2 separate regions of the Homo sapiens genome follow, and region 2 is linked to region 1. Evidence: promoter capture Hi-C in 16 types of primary human blood cells and fetal thymus (Javierre and others, 2016). All regions are on one chromosome and are shown on one strand. The core of a region is centred on a gene start or on the middle of the fragment in contact, and the rest is flanking DNA. Distances in the headings are between cores, read along the strand shown.

The links. Contacts are between HindIII fragments. The CHiCAGO score rates a contact against its expected background, and 5 or more counts as called.
Region 2: a fragment that was not itself captured here is called in contact with the fragment with the promoter of ACAT1 in region 1 in 5 of 17 cell types (naive CD4 T cells, activated CD4 T cells, total CD4 T cells and 2 more); the score reaches 6.3 in naive CD4 T cells.

Annotation. Positions count from the first base shown.
Region 1 is chr11:108,120,317-108,124,161 of GRCh38, forward strand. It overlaps ACAT1 (acetyl-CoA acetyltransferase 1), which reads left to right and starts at 1,251. Exons shown (of 12, transcript NM_000019.4): 1 at 1,251-1,362. The coding sequence starts at 1,291. RefSeq lists silencers at 913-1,451, 1,053-1,462 and an enhancer at 3,688-3,807. The HindIII fragment of the contact is 9,706 bases long and covers 1-1,422 here.
Region 2 is chr11:108,685,813-108,689,653 of GRCh38, forward strand. DDX10 (DEAD-box helicase 10) reads left to right here. Exons shown (of 18, transcript NM_004398.4): 7 at 3,124-3,250. Among named protein-coding and RNA genes, the nearest start is that of DDX10, 23 kb to the left of the region's middle. The HindIII fragment of the contact is 4,453 bases long and covers 1-3,841 here.

The DNA of each region.
Region 1 (3,845 bases), core at 1-2,500:
CAAGACCCCTTCTCTATATAAAATAAAAATTAAAAAAATTAGCATGGTGGAGCATGCCTGTAGTCCTAGCTACGTAGCTACTTGGGAAGCAGAGACAGGAGGATCCCCTAGCTACTTGGGAGGCAGAGACAGGAGGATCCCCTGAGACCAGGAGTTTGAGGCTGCAGTGAGATATGATTGCACCACTGTACTCCAGACTGGGTGACAAGAGCGAGACCCTATCTTAAAAAAAAAAAATACTCCAAAACATAATGGCCTAAAATAACAACCATTTGTTTTCTCTCGTTTCTGTGGACCATGAATTCAGACAGCATGGTGGGTATGGCTTGTCTCTGCTCCATGATGTCTGGGGTCTCAGCTGGAGTGGTTGAAGGTTGGGGACTGGAATCACCTGAGGCCTTTTTACCCATATTTGTATCTGGACTGAGCCTGGAATTTGATTGCTTCAAAATATTTTCACGGCTGGGTGTGATGGCTCACGCCTGTAATCCCAGCACTTTGAGAGGCTGAGTCTGGCCGTCTGCTTGAGCCCAGGAGTCAGCAACCAGCCTAGGCAACATAGGGAGACCTAGTCTCTACAAAAAAAAAAAAATACAACAATTTGCTGGGCGTGGTCGCCTGCGCCTGTAATCCCAGCACTTTGGGAGGCCGAGGAGGGAGGCTCACTTGAGTCCAGGAGTTCAAGACCAGTCTGGCCAACATGGTGAAACCCCGTCTCCACAAAAAATACAAAAATTATCTGGTTGTGGAGGCTTTCGCCTGTAGTCTCAGCTACTGGGATGGCTGGGGAGGGAGGATCGCTTGAGCCCTGATGGTCGAGATTACAGTGAGCTGTGGTCACGTCACTGCACTCCAGCTTGGGTGACAGAGTGAGACCTTGTCTCAAAAAAAAAAAAAAAAATCCTAAAATATTTTCATGAGTTTGTGCTGGGTAGGCCTAAGGGAAACATGCTCAGTAAATCGAAAAATCTCGGATTACACATAAACCACCGGCCCCGGCAGGTTAGACTTGGTGGACACGGGAGCCAGCAGCGTGTCAGGTGCTCGTTGACCCCAGCGCCAGTGTCTCCATCCACGTCCTTCACTCGTCAACCTTTCCTGGCCCAGGCTGCGGTGTCCCAGCGCCAGGCTCCGCCCCGCCCTTGGCTGCCGGCCAATCGCCGCCGACTGAGAGGCGACTATTGGAGGAAGCGGGATGGGCGGTGCCCGCGCCGGGCCGCTAGGGGTGCGGGGTTGGGGAGGAGGCCGCTAGTCTACGCCTGTGGAGCCGATACTCAGCCCTCTGCGACCATGGCTGTGCTGGCGGCACTTCTGCGCAGCGGCGCCCGCAGCCGCAGCCCCCTGCTCCGGAGGCTGGTGCAGGTGAGCGGGGTTCGTCCCCACAGCACTCAGACCCGGGATGCGAGGAGTCCCCGCCTCGGAAGCTTCCAGCCCGCGGCCGTTGCGGCTCCCGCGGCCCGGGCGCGCGGCTTAGGCCCCAGGACAGTCACGCGACGGGTTCTGGTCCAAAAACCGCCTAAGTGCTCCGATAACACCCAGGGACTCGCCTATTTTTACAGCGCGTTTCTACTTCCAAGGTCTCGGCGTAATCATCTTAATGAGCGTTACTGGTGTGTCAAACAAGGGCACGTGTCTGGGCGGGCAGGACCGCCAGGATTGGCGCTGGCCCGGCCTGAGCGGTGGGATCGGGGAGAGTCTCTTTGCAGGCCTGTGCAGCTGCTCCCGAGATTTTCTTTAAAACATATTTGTGTGCGTTATTGTCAGGAGAGGTTCCTTTTCTTTTTTAATACAATAGATAATCATTGGGCATACAAGGGGAGAGGGCACCATGTGATCATAACAGATGTTTTTTGGAGCAGCCTGAAATTTATCAGGGAAAACAAATGACTACTCAGATAATACAATAAATTATACTTGACATATGAGCAAAGCTCACATACTGAGGGCGTTCCAAGGGCTGTCGCTCTTCTGACCGTTGTGTTTAGGGAACACAGCAGGGGCAGAGTCTCAAAGAATTTATTCTCCACATGCGTAAGCAAGGGAGTACGCACCACAGATTGTCAGGCAAAGCCTCAGGAATAGGTAGAGACCTTCAGGGTGTGGTTGGTGAAGCTTGAGTTTTCTAGGTCGATGGGGGCAATAAGCTTGGAGATCCAGTTATGTTGTGAGTATGGACTTGACCCTAGTTAAGTAGGGATTGTTGATATGTTTGTTTTTGTTGCAATGGTAGGTCACTCTAGTTCTTACGTCTGGGCGTAGAATAACATTACTTGCACAAGGGTGCTGGCGGTAGGAGCTTTGCAAGAGATTGTAAAAGAACCAGTCTAGGACTTGACAATTAGGGAGTGAGGGTGCGAAGCCAAGGGAAAAGAAAGAGTCTAAAATTGATCCTGGGTGACTGAGATAATAGAAAAGTCACAAGGCGTAGGTTTCCAGGGAAGATGAGTTTTTAGCCTATTTGTTAGTCTCATGGGATGAGTGAAGAAATCACAAGAAAGTAATTAGGTTATCTTGGGTTTCAGTCAGTATTGACTAGGTGACATAGGTGAACTAGGTACTCTAGAGATGTAAAAAAAAAAAGTTCAGAACCTTCTTAATTTATGGTTTAATTAAGATCTTACAATCAGGTTGGTTGAGGTGGCTTATGCCAGTAATCCCAGCACTTTGGGAGGCCGGGGTGGGTAGATCATTTGAGGTCAAGAGTTCAAGACCAGCCTGGCCAACGTGGTGAAGCCCCACCTCTATTAAAAATACACACACACACAAAAATTAGCTGGGTGTGGTGGCAGGCGCCTGTAATCCCAGCTACTTGGGAGGCTGAGGCAGGAGAATCGCTTGAACCCGGGAGGAGGGGAAGGTTGCAGTGAGCTGAGATCATGCCACTGCACTCCAGCCTGGGCAACAGAGTGAGACTCCGTCTTAAAAAAAAAGATCTTAAAATGAAACACAAATACTCCTCATGAAAAAAATAAGCCTGTACATGCTGTAATGTATGATATGTGACATTCATATTACTGAACTCTAGGAAGCAGTTGTATTGGACACTTGAATTAAATGGTCATTTACTGAACTATAAACAGGATTTCCAGTTTTCTGTGCTATTTTGTAGAATGGAATTTGACCTCTCATTACATTGGCTCTTTTCCCTTTGCTTACCAGGTCTCTTTTATGGTCAACAAATCTTTATGGACTTTATTGGAGCACATTGCCTTTCTAGCTCTAATCACTTTTCTCTCTCTGGTCAAAGGAGTGGTCTTTACTCATTACCTCCCATGTATTCTGCATCTATTTCTCCTTAACTCTCTGCAGTTAAATTTCTTTGCCACTGAAGCTGAAAAATACAGTGATTTCCTTTTTCTTTGTTTTTTAATTATTTTTTTAAATCTATTTTAATTTTAGTTTTTGTAGACACGGGGTCTGGTTCTGTTGGCCAGGCTGGTCTTGAACTCCTGGCCTGCCAAAGTGCTGGGATTACAGGTGTGAGCCATTGTGCTCAGCCCAAGTTTTTTCTTCTTGACCTTTATCCTATATTTGACACTATTGACCACTCCCTTCTTGAAACTGTTTTGTGTTTTGATCCAGTTTTATTCAGCTTCTTTTAATACTCAGACTTAAAAAAAAATTCCTGTATTGTGCCAGTCTTGGGCTTATTTGCTCCCAGATTCATTTATCTTCCCTCCCCTAGTCTGTCTGCATTACTGTAGGCTGACCAATATCAGCTGGCTTCTGGCTGGGTGTAGCCACTGGAAGGCACCAGTGGAAGATTGGAAGATAGGAGGAAGGGAGAAGCCAGAATAATTTGTCTGTCTGTCTGTATCTGGCAGTGTCTGTCTCTCTTGTGGTTC
Region 2 (3,841 bases), core at 813-3,312, 570 kb after region 1:
CTAAAATAGTTTCAGGATAATACCAATATTATTACTGATAATATGATTACTTATAAAAGTTTAAGATTCCTTTGCATTTCTCTTTTTCTCCTTAGACATCCCAGTAAAGATGTAGGAATCAAATTCCTTCAAAGGCATTTCCTTTGAAATAATTCCTTTGTCATTTAGTCATCAACTTGATATATATTTGGGCTTATTGTTTTCATTTTGCTCTTTTGTAAAACTTCATTCTGTTTCCCATAATTCCCTATAGATATGGCCTATTTCTTCTTTAAAGACTGTTTTTTTAGAGCAGTTTTAGGTTAATCTCAAAATTGAAAGGAAGGTACAGAGATTTGCCACATACCTGCTGTCCCCATGCAGCCTCTGCCATTATCAACACTCTTGCTAGAATGGTGGTGCATTTGCTACAATGGATGGACCTATGTTTTTGCATCCTTATCACCCAAAGTCTGTTACTTTAGGGTTCACTCTTGGTGTGGTACAGCCCATTGATTTGGACAAATTTATGATAACATATGTCTACTGTTATAGTATTTCACAGTATATTCACTGCCCTGAAAGTCCTCTGTGCTCTGCCTATTCATTTATTCATCTCCCCTGGCAGCCGCTGATCTTTTTACTGTCTCCATAGTGTCATCTTTTCAGAATGTTGTATAGTTGGAACCATACAGTATGGTAGCCTTTTCGTATTGGTTGCTTTCACTTAATATTACGCATTTAAGATTGCTCCATGTCTTTTCATGGAGTGATATGATAGCTCATTTCATTTTAGCACTGAATAATATTCCATTGTCTGGATGTACCACAGTTTATTTATCCATTCACTTACTGAAGGACATCTTGATTGCCTTCAAGTTTTGGCAATTATGAATAAAGCTGCAATAAACATCCTTTTGCAGATCTTTGTGTGGACGTATGTTTTCAACTCTTTTTGGTAAATACCAAGGAACGTGATAGTTGGGTCAGGTACTAAAAGTATGTTTTTTTGAGACAGAGTCTTGCTCTGTCGCCCAGGCTGGAGTGCAGTGGCATAATCTCCCTTCACTGCAAGCTCTGCCCCTCGGGTTCATGCCATTCTCCTGCCTCAGCCTCCCAAGTAGCTGGGACTACAGGTGCCCGCCACCACGCCCGGCTACTTTTTTTGTACTTTTAGTAGAGATGGGGTCTCACTGTGTTTGCCAGGATGGTCTCGATCTCCTGACCTCGTGATCTGCCTGCCTCAGCCTCCCAAAGTGCTGGGATTACAGGCATGAGTCACTGCGCCCGGCCTCAAGTATGTTTGGTTTTAAGAGACTGCTATACTGTCTTCCAAAATGGCAGTATCATTTTGCATTTCTGCCAGCAGTGAAGGATAGTTCCTGTGGCTCCACATCCTTGCCAGCGTTTGGTGTCGTCACTGTTCTGGATTTTGGCCATCTAATAAGTGTGAAGTGACATATCGTTATTTTAATTAACTTTTGCCTGTTGACATATGATATGGATCATCTTTAAATTGTTTTTTATTTTTTTGAGACAAGGTCTTACTCTGTCACCCAGGCTAGAGTGCAGTGTAGCATGATCATGGCTCACTGCAGCCTCGAACTCCCTAGCCTGAATTGATGCTCCTGCTTCAGCCTCCCAGGTAGCTGGGACTATAGGCACATGCCACCATGCCCAGCTAACTTTTGTATTTTTTTGTAGAGATGGGGTTTCACCATGTTGCCCAGGCTGGTGTAGCATCTTTTCATATGGTTATTTTTTTTATCTACATATCCTCTTTGGAGAGGTGTCTGTTAAGATTTTTGGCCTCCTTCCCCCTTTTAAAATTGGGTGTTTCTGTTCTTATTGTTGAATTTTAAGAGTTGTTTGTATATTTTGGAGAACAGTCCTTTATCAGATGTTTTTTGCAAATATTTTTCTCCATTCCGTGGCTTATCTTCTAATTCTTTTGATAGTGTGTTTCACAGATCAGAAACATTTAATTTTAATGAAGTCCAGCTTATCAATTCTTCCCTTTGTGGATCATAACTTAGTCATATCTAAAACCAGTTGACTTGTAGTTTTTGGTTTGTCTGTCCCTCCTCCTTTTTTCTTTCACTGTAAACACAGACACACATGGGTGGGCATGTATATGGATATATAATGTATAGCCCCCTGATAAATAGTACCAAACTATCTGTACTATTCTGCCCCTTACCTCTTTCCTTAACAGTGTGTCCTAGACATCACTCCTCAGCAATATATGGATAGAATCTTCATTCCTTTTTTACAGTTGCATAATAATTAATGTATGTGGCTGTGTAATTGTTCATACTGCAAGTCCCTACTGATGGACATTTGGGTTGATTTTCATCATTTTTTGCTTCATAAATAATGCCATATATTTGTGTGTGTGTATATGTGTGTGTTTAAAACCAGAGTAATGTTGGAATAAAGTAGGTTTATTAATTCAAAGAGTAAATGCATGTATATTTTTCTCCAACATTTTATAATGAAATTTCAAACATATGGTACATTGAAAGACTTCTACCATAAATACCTTATACCAAACACCTAGATACTATCTAATGGTAGCATCCATTTACTTGCTTTCATCCATCCCTTCTATATTAACCCATTTTATTTTTGATGGATTTCAGGGTAAATTGCAGATATCTGTATTCTCTCCAAATACTTCAGCACACGTATTACTGAGAGTTTAATATTTGAACAGATTTTTTTTCTTTTGGCATAAAATTTGTGTACCATGAAATATGAAAATTGTAAGTATACAGTTGAATTTGATGAATGTGTATATCTCAGTAATCTAAAGCCCTAATGAGATGTGGAATACTAATCAGCCCAGCAAGTTCTCTTACACCTCTTCTTAGTTAATCCTTGACCCTGCATTTTTAGAGGTAATCACTGTTCTTGTCATGCTTTGTTTGACATTGATTTACAAGGGATTTTGAATGTGTTTTAAAGTAATGTGTTGAATTTGTTTCCTAAGGGACAATAGAGAAAAATTCTTTTTTTGGTGTATGTGTGTAGGAAATTTGCTTGAGAGATGTGCCACTATTAAAACTTGTTTCCTTTTTTGGTCTGGATTTCAGTTACTTACATGACATATTCTAATGTTTTTCTTTTCCGTAATTCCACAAGCACCCCTGCCACTTTGGAACAGAACTACATAGTCTGTGAGCTGCAGCAAAAAATAAGTGTGCTGTATTCCTTTTTGAGAAGCCATCTGAAGAAGAAGAGCATTGTATTTTTTTCCAGTTGCAAAGAGGTATTGGCTGTTTATTTTGCTTTCTGAACGTATGTTGAATGTCCCTTTTGAAATGGCAAATCAATTAGACAAATTATTATATTGTACGAGAAGTACAGTGCTAGGTGTGGTGAGGGATCTTTCGTGTCCTTGTTGCAAAGGAATCCGTGGCTGAGACTTTCAACTCCACAAGGACAGAAACTGTGTCTTTTCTTAGGTATTATGTTAAGTGCTAACAATACTGGAAATGTAGTCCTCAATAAATATTAGTAGAATGAATAATTGTTATCCAAGCTAAGCAGAGGTCTTTATAATCTGATACCTCCCTTACCCTCCAAGAATATGGGAATGAATATACCATTTATTTCCATGCCGTATATCTTTGTTTATGCTGATCTGTCTGGAATGCCCTCCCTGCATCTCTTCATCTAAATCTGGGGAAATACTTACTTTGAGGCTAAGTTCAAATGTTATGCCTGAAAGTCCCTTTCTGACACTCCCTTTTTAAAGAATCAGTTGTTCCCTCCCCTAACCTTCTGAAGTGTTTTGTTTATATCTTAGTTAATAAACACTTCTTGAACACTAGCCCTGTGCTAGGAATAAAGAATAAGG